Linked DNA regions of Homo sapiens: region 1 is linked to region 2. The links are contacts of gene promoters, found by promoter capture Hi-C in blood cells and fetal thymus (Javierre and others, 2016). All regions are on one chromosome and are shown on one strand. The core of a region is centred on a gene start or on the middle of the fragment in contact, and the rest is flanking DNA. Distances in the headings are between cores, read along the strand shown. Region 1 has its middle 4.6 kb from the start of DCD. Region 2 holds the start of OR10A7 (olfactory receptor family 10 subfamily A member 7).

Region 1 (4,317 bases), core at 749-3,248, 570 kb before region 2:
CAGTTATCTAAATAGAGATCTGAGAGTAATTTTACATTTTTCCTCCTCTTGGCCCCCTATGTACAAGGACACCGGGGTCTATGAAGTTCTGCCTCTTTGTCAATCCCAGGGCTCTGGCTCAGAAGCCTCTGCCTGGGGGCCTTGCCATTTTTTATGTTCACTGAAGAAACAGCTTCACAAATGGTTTTCCCTCTGACAGTCTCAAGTTCAAACTCCCAGCTGTCTAAGTGATTTATAGTAGACAAACTATGTGCAGAGCACACACCATCTTTCATGAGCTGGCTTCTGTCCGTCCCTTCAGTTTCAACCCTTCTCATTCCCTCATCAAGACTCTGCCTCAGTCACATTAAATTTCTTTCAGTTTCTTGCATAGATTTAATTTTTTCTTGCTTCTGCCTCTTCACGTATTTTCCTCCGTGTATTGTCTTTAATGCCCTCCTACGATTAGATGACAGAGCTTTTTCCTACTCATCCTTTAAGATTCAGATCAGAAATACCTTCTTCCTGGAAGATTTTCTTTTTTTCTTTTCTTTTTTCTTGAGACGGAGTCACGCTCTGTCACCAGGCTGGAGTGCAGTGGTGCAATCTCAGCTCATTGCAACCTCCGCCTCCCAGGTTCAAGCGATTCTCCTGCCTCAGCCTCTCAAGTAGCTGGGACTACAGGCACCCACCACCACCCCTGGCTAATTTTTGTAGTTTTAGTAGAGATGGGGTTTCACCATGTTGGCCAGGATGGTCTTGATGGTCTCGATGTCTTGACCTCGTGATCCGCTCACCTCGGCTCCCAAAGTGCTGCAGTTACAGGCTTGAGCCAGTGGGCCCAGCCCCTGGAAGATTTTCTGGGCATTCTTCTTGTCTTCCTTCCTCTCCCCACCAAAGTGAAGTCAGAGTTCTGGGCTATGCACTTCCACCAGCCCCTTGCTCTTCTCTTTATCTGTGCATCACCTCGATGGTATTGGGATTGTCTGTTTAGTGCTTGGTTTTCCACACTAGACTTCAGCTGTGCAGTGCAGGACCATGTTTAATTTGTCTGTGCACCCCAGCCCCAGTGAGGATGCCAGACACACAGTTAGAATGCAGTAACTTTTGGTGAAGTGCAGCTAGAAACCTACAAGTGAGTGGGGCTAGAAACCTTCAGAATTTGGGCAAGAGATGTGGACTGGTGGATAAAGCTTAGATTAGACTAATAACATTAATCTGTTGGAAAGAGATATGCCAAGCTGCTTTTTAAGAAACTATTTAATATTTGTTTGTAGTTTTTTTCTTTGAGGTAAAACTTACATACAATGAAACTATACAATGAAACATACATATTAACTGTATTTTTTCGTCTTGTCAAATGCATCTACTGATGTAACCCAGACTCCAATCAAGATATGAAGCATTACCAGTAACCCAGAAAATTTCCTCCTGCCTTTTCCCAGGTGATACCTGCCCCAGCTCCTAGAGGCAAGCTGAACTGCTTTTTAAATACACTCTTTTTTTATTTTAAGAGACAGGATCTTGCTCTGTGATCCAGGCTGGAGTGTAGAGATGCCATCATAGCTCACTGCACCCTCAAACTTCTGGGCTCAAGCGATCCTCTCGCTTCAGTTTCTCAATTTAATGCACTCATTGCTGGAATATCTGTGGGGTTTATTCAACCCTAGCTTGATAGCTTTCTTTCTCTGTCTTGTAATGTGGGCTTATGCCTGTAGAAACCTGACAATTCAGGCCATAGAAGCATCCTTGGGTCAGGAAAGAGAGCTTGCATGTTTTCAAAGGTGTGGAGAGTCTCTTTGGTGTTCCGTGGTGAAAAGAGTCAGCACTGGGCCTTCAATTTTCATGCACTTCATCGAGTGATTCCCCAGGAAGGGCCCAGAAGAAAGATTAAGATATGGGGAATACTTGCCTTTGGACAGAATCCGTTTCTGTTTAACTGATGTCTTCCAGCTGGTTCCTCAGAAAGAAAAGGTCAGGTAGGTTCAGAAGTCCAGTGTGGGAATAATGTGGTTAAGAGTTGGGAGTCAGGAGGTGAATTAAGTCTAATATCAAAGGTGGGCAGTGGAGATCTGTGCAGGGCAAGGAGAATTCAGAGAAAGGTAGGCAGGGGCTTCATTCATTTTGCAGGTACTGGGTACTGGCATCTGAGGGATAAGTATGAGTTGGTATCCACCCTCATGGAGCTCATAGTCTCGGCTTGGAAATAAAGTTATGCTAAATAATTCGATATTAATATGACCCATAAAGGAGTACCTAGAAGGGAAAAATGAAGGTCTGAAGCAGTTCAGGGATGTTGAGAAGAGGGGAAACGTTAGAGGAAGCACTCAGGGGCATTATGGTCAGGAAAGTGAGGGAGAGGAAGTGCTCCATTCCTGAAGATCTGAAATCAAGTGAGTGATAGGGCCGGAGATGGAGAGGCTTGAGTATGGGGAGGGCACATGTGTGTGCATGTGTGTGCGTGTGTGTGTGTGTGTGCGCACGCACATTTGAGTGGGAGGTACATGAAGGCAGAGGGCGATGCTCCCTTCTCAGTAGGAACGTCATCTCGGACAGATCATTACACAGCCCTCAGGAACAGTTCTTGCTATTTGCACAAGTATTTTCCAGGAGGAGATTCCAGGAGGAGGAACCTCAGGGTTCTGCAATCAGCACTGCCAAGGAGCAGTTTCTCGGTACTCCTCCTTGCCTCCCTTCCCTACCTGGGCCTCAGGAAAGAAAGGAGGAGGTACTCCCAGGAATTGTGGGGAGGGAGCAGAGGCCTGTAAGGTAAATACCTTTTTTCCCCCAACACTTAAAAAAGATGCTTTTCATGAATTTAAAACAAGTCTGTAATATTCATTACCAAGCTTAGCCTGTTACTCATTATGGAGAGGGAGGCATGGGATGGGAATGGGGGCAGGGATGGTACCCAGAAGACTGCAATTCCTTTTCTCCTGGATGTGGTTAAAGAAAAACACTCCAGTTCTCTGGCTTCCTTGAGGGGGCAATTGTCCGTGGACACCTGGTTGTAGACCCTGGTGCTTGCTGGGGTGCTAATCTGCCCCTTCTCCTGTTCTGCATGTTCTTCCCCTGTTCTTCATTCTTCCCTATCTGGGTACAGTGTCCTATCCTAGACAGTGGGGTGGGGAATGTGGAACACAGAGGGAGGAGGTGACCCTGCATTTACGAGGATGGAAGGTTGATTCCTGTATCTGGGCGGACATAAGGGCCTTTACCTGGCCATCTCACGCTGATCCTAACTGACTTCACTGCTGTTTCTGTTACGCACCCATTGGCACTACAGTAATGCCTTGTTTCTCTGAGCTGGTGGAAGCTAACCAGTCATCTTGGTCAAATGTCAAAAGGTTAACTGCCTGAATTTTATAGGCAATTGCCAGAAAAAGCATCCTCAGAATCAATGTCCCTGGCTTTGAATAATTTCCAGGTGACACATCATGTACCTCTAAAAATCAAATTAATATTTGGAAATGGTCATTAAGAACCAAGATTGAGGAATAAAGTGGAGAGGCATTTGGGTTGAAAACTCTACTCGGTTATTTCATCATAAGGTTCCCATTCTCGTCTGGCTTCTAAACAGGTTCTGAAAATCGATTCAAAAGGGCAGATAATTTTGGAGCAATGAAAGCCCATTTGGGGTGAGTATGGCTTCCCAAGGTGACTAGTTTGAAGAATGTGGTGCTCATTTAGATGTAGAAGTTCTGGCTTATTTGTGACAAATCAATTCTCTTCTCCTTATTATCAAGTTTGAAATTGGCCTTAGCAAGGTCTTTGGTACACTTAGGACATTCTAAATTTCTCTATCCCAAGGGTCTGGAGAATTGAGGAGTCATCAGACCTTAGGAAGTTACTGGGAATTAATCTGGAGAGGCTTCCTGGACCAAGAAGACTGTGGAGAGAGATGGAAGTGACAGCCTTCAATACTGGGGGTTGGTTAGCATAAGGACAACAGCGCTATCCTTGGATGCAGAATTTGGGCATATGAACTGAGCAGAATTGACTTGGGGAACCCTTAAAATAAGCGCACAACAGAGCTGAGGGCAGCAGCTGGTAGAAGGCTAAGATAAATTGTTAGAATGGAGTTTTAAACAGGAGGAGAGGAAAATCATCTTGGTTGTCTGCCATTCCTGCCTCTGAATAACTGGAGCCAATTCTAAAGTACTAATAGGGCCTGAGTAGGGTCTGGTACTCCCCAGTTTTGTGATGCACTCCCTTAATCCCTAGAGGTGGCAGGGGGTCAGGCCCAGCTGCATGGAGAGCCAATTGCCTCAGGGAGATGACTTAGACAAATAGGACTTTTATGTTCTTGTTAATTCGTGTGTGAGCCTGGGGCATTGT
Region 2 (4,311 bases), core at 1,757-4,256:
TCCCCCTGTGAGATAAAAGCAGTTGTCTAATTAACTATAGTCCTTTCTAGTGATCCAGGGATCATTTCCTCAAGGCCAGTCACACTTTTAAATGCTGTTACTAAAATATAGCAACCATGTAGTGCCAGTGCAAGGCATGTTAGCCTGTCTAAGGTATTAACTTCATTATGAAGATTTGAGCTATCAATAGGTTTCAAGATCATTTAACATTTCTCTGAAAATATTGCATATCTTTAAAAAAATCATTAAATTTCTAATTACAGAAGAAATATGAGGTTTTATTTGGTAAGATACATGCAGATATTTCTTTATGATTTGTTATATTTCTCAATTTTGTTAAACATCTAAATTTATCTGTACATCTGTGTATTACAAAAGCATTCTAAGAAAAATAAATAATGAAATATTAATTATCAGAAAAGGAATAACTTTATACTTCTCTAAAATAAAAGAAAACAAAAAATAATGAGGCCTTCATTCTGTCTGGAAAGCAACAGAATGCTAAAGAAGAGAGTATTAATAAAACAGTAGCTATGTAATAAAGAAATACTGTGGATTATAACTACACAAAGTACTTTTAATTCAGATACTATGGCAATTTATTCATTTACATGTAGGGTTGTTAGAAGTGTTGCTCCATTTAGATAAATTTAATAACTATCTCAGATTCATGTTGTATTCCAAATACTGAAGATATAATCGCATTCATCCATAATAATTTTATGAGAAAACATATACTTATAAAAAAGTTAGCTAAAACAAGAGGTAAAGTCTATTTTCTAAAAAAAAAAGGCCAAAGTTGACTGCTTAATGGGACATGAAAAAAACTATTTGGACTCATTAAGATATTACCAACTAAATTAATGAACTTAATTAAATGACATCAAGTTATCAAAATGCCATGCGACAAGTAAAACAGTACATTCTCTAGAGCAATGTAGCAATCATGGCAACTCAACACTCTGCAAGTTTTTTTTTTAAATCAGTATAAATTTGTGGTAGTGATTGCAACATCACTGCTAATTAATCTCTTAGTTTAGTGAATATATGCAAAGTAATCTGTAGGCTTTTTAGGATATAGAAAGACTGAGAGGAGTATTTAGAGGTACATCCTGTGACATTATAAACCTCTAATTGTCTAAACTTTTATTAAAACTTAAATGCCTTTGGGAAAGGTGAAAAATGTGCAATGGTAATTATTAAAAATTCGAGAAACTGACCATTTTTGGATATCCGTATTCATATTTCACATGGATTGTACATTATAGAACTTATTACTCAATGAAAAGCCATTCATCTTAGTACTGCTTTCTGCCACTGTTAATATTAGAATTCTGAGAGGCAGTTGGTTGAGGCATTTTAGGATGCACTAAATATTGTAACTACTATAAAATCTTGATGCCTTCATCAACTCCCATATTTTTTCAAAACAAAAGATGGTGTAATTTTAGACCCATAACAAGTTTAGAATTGCTCCAAAATGTAGGTAAGCATGATAATGCATATGAAGTTTTTCGTAAGTTTTTATGAATATACCAGGAATATGATGTTGTTGTTTCTATTCCTGATGACAAGAATGATAGTGAAGCTGGTTTTGCAATAGTAGTGAGAGAGTAATGGTTGTAATCACTGTCACATGTTACCTATTATTTTGGGACTTACAAGGGCATGGGAAACCTGAAATCACCAGAGTTGTTCCTTTCTTTTTGCTACTGAGGACATTCCTTTGAGAACTTACAATATGGAAAATACACAGGTAAGATGTTACATGTCTTAAGAGTAGAATTAAAACATAGAATTATTTAAATGAGCCACAGTTTCAGAATGATTCCATACACTGTAAGTTTTTACCTACTGACTTCAGGAGCGGATATCTATTTTAAATTATTTTGACTATAAAATGAAATATGCATTTTTTTCTGAATTAAATTTAAAAAGTATGTAAAATAATTGATACGATATTTACCCAGTTCTAATATTTGGAAAAAATTATTTTTCTAACACATCCTCCTGTAATTGCTAAATTTTGGTACTAAGAATGACCTCCTGTAAAGAAAACAATTGCATAATTTAATGTTGGCCAAAATATTTTGCTCTAAGTAAGATATAGTATTTGAGTTTGTAATGGTTGAATTAGTGCTTTTGGGACTGGATCAGCTGACATACAAAAGTAAGTATATGTACCCTACTTCTGATCATGAAGTTTTAAAGAAGATGGACAGTCATGAGAGGAACTATTTTGGCAGAGAAAAGTTAAGATGAGTGTTGGGAGGATATTTCTCTATTGTAAGTCATATTTGTTTGGAAGTTTTTAAAAAATATAGCTTAAACAATATAACTATAACTCTATGTATAATAAGAAGTGGGGGCCCAGTGAAGTTGAGTTATGGTTCAAAAGACAATATAAAAATGTCATAAACTATTAGGCTGATGGAGACTACAGAGAAGCACCAAAATCATAAGCATATATTATGTTTATTTATTAAGTTTCTTGTGTGTGTGTGTGTGTGTGTACTGGGCATGTTGGTATATGTATATATTTATAGTGGATGAATGGTATAAAATGTACTATATTCAGTAGAAATGTGATTAATATAATTAAATATTAGAATGTCAAACTAGCCCATTATTTATCTTTATTGCATCCTGAAATCATTTAAAAATTAGTACACTATTCTATTTTAATTATCTATCTACACTCTTTCCACTTTATCCTACAAAATAGCATGCCTACGTTGAAGAATATGAGCACAGACTATGACTACTCATGAGAAAAAAATTACATCTAGGTGGTAAACAATGAGTAAGATTTATACAGAATGTTTATTTTTCCTTAATTTTATCTTATCATAAACATCATTTCTGCTTCAGAGAAACAGAATGGTAAGACAACTGAGAATAAAGATGTTTTATGGATGTTATTATTATTTTTGAGATTACCTCTATATTGATTTAATACCCTTTGATGCACATACTTTGATTTTTAGAGAGAAACTCATCTAAGATATGATCTGTGAAAATCACACCAGAGTCACTGAATTTATTCTTCTTGGTTTTACAAACAACCCCGAGATGCAAGTTTCCCTCTTTATTTTTTTCCTGGCCATTTATACAGTCACTTTGTTGGGCAACTTTCTTATTGTCACAGTTACCAGTGTGGATCTCGCACTTCAAACACCCATGTACTTCTTTCTTCAAAATCTGTCACTTCTTGAAGTATGTTTCACCTTGGTTATGGTGCCAAAAATGCTTGTAGATCTAGTGTCCCCAAGGAAAATTATCTCTTTTGTGGGCTGTGGTACCCAGATGTACTTCTTCTTCTTCTTTGGCAGTTCTGAATGTTTCCTTCTCTCCATGATGGCTTATGATCGCTTTGTGGCCATCTGTAACCCTCTCCATTATTCAGTCATAATGAACAGGTCCCTATGCTTGTGGATGGCCATAGGCTCTTGGATGTCCGGTGTTCCTGTGTCTATGCTACAGACAGCTTGGATGATGGCCCTTCCTTTCTGTGGACCAAATGCCGTGGACCACTTTTTCTGTGATGGTCCCCCAGTGTTAAAACTAGTCACAGTGGATACAACCATGTATGAAATGCAAGCACTTGCCTCCACACTCCTGTTTATCATGTTTCCCTTTTGTCTCATTTTGGTTTCCTACACCCGCATTATCATAACAATTCTGAGGATGTCCTCTGCCACTGGCCGCCAGAAGGCATTTTCTACTTGTTCCTCACACCTCATTGTGGTGTCCCTCTTCTACGGAACAGCCAGTCTGACCTACCTGCGGCCCAAATCAAACCAGTCCCCTGAGAGCAAGAAGCTAGTGTCATTGTCCTACACTGTCATCACACCTATGCTAAACCCCATCATCTACGGCCTGAGGAACAATGAAGTGAAAGGGGCTGTCAAGAGGACAATCACTCAAAAAGTCTTACAGAAGTTAGATGTGTTTTGACTTCTATTGTGTAAGAATGCTTCCAAAGTAGGGACAGCAGAACCTACTAACCAAAGCTTAAAACGGAATGGAAGAGTTGCTCTTATTTCATCACTAACTGGTGGGTGCATTTCTGTGTATCATTCAGGTTCCTAGCAGGAAAGAGATGGTACTCCTGAATTGGGATAAGTGAGAAAACGCTTTATGAGAGGGCTATTTAGAAATTGTGAACAAGGTTAGGTAATAGCCACACAGATCATACAACAGAACTTTTACACTTCTTGGCCTGAAGGGGCAAGTAGAAGGAGTGTTAACTGGAACCAATAGAATGCTACAACTATTAAAAAAAAATCACCTGATAGGATCTCTGTTCTT

The links. Contacts are between HindIII fragments. The CHiCAGO score rates a contact against its expected background, and 5 or more counts as called.
Region 1: a contact is called between a fragment that was not itself captured here and the fragment with the promoter of OR10A7 in region 2, in 1 of 17 cell types (non-activated CD4 T cells). The highest score is 5.8, in non-activated CD4 T cells.

What each region holds. Positions count from the first base shown.
Region 1 is chr12:54,650,844-54,655,160 of GRCh38, forward strand. No RefSeq gene overlaps it. Among named protein-coding and RNA genes, the nearest start is that of DCD, 4.6 kb to the left of the region's middle. The HindIII fragment of the contact is 1,656 bases long and covers 1,171-2,826 here.
Region 2 is chr12:55,218,019-55,222,329 of GRCh38, forward strand. OR10A7 (olfactory receptor family 10 subfamily A member 7) reads left to right here and starts at 3,007. Exons shown (of 1, transcript NM_001005280.1): 1 at 3,007-3,957. The coding sequence starts at 3,007. The coding sequence ends at 3,957. The HindIII fragment of the contact is 4,903 bases long and covers 1-4,011 here.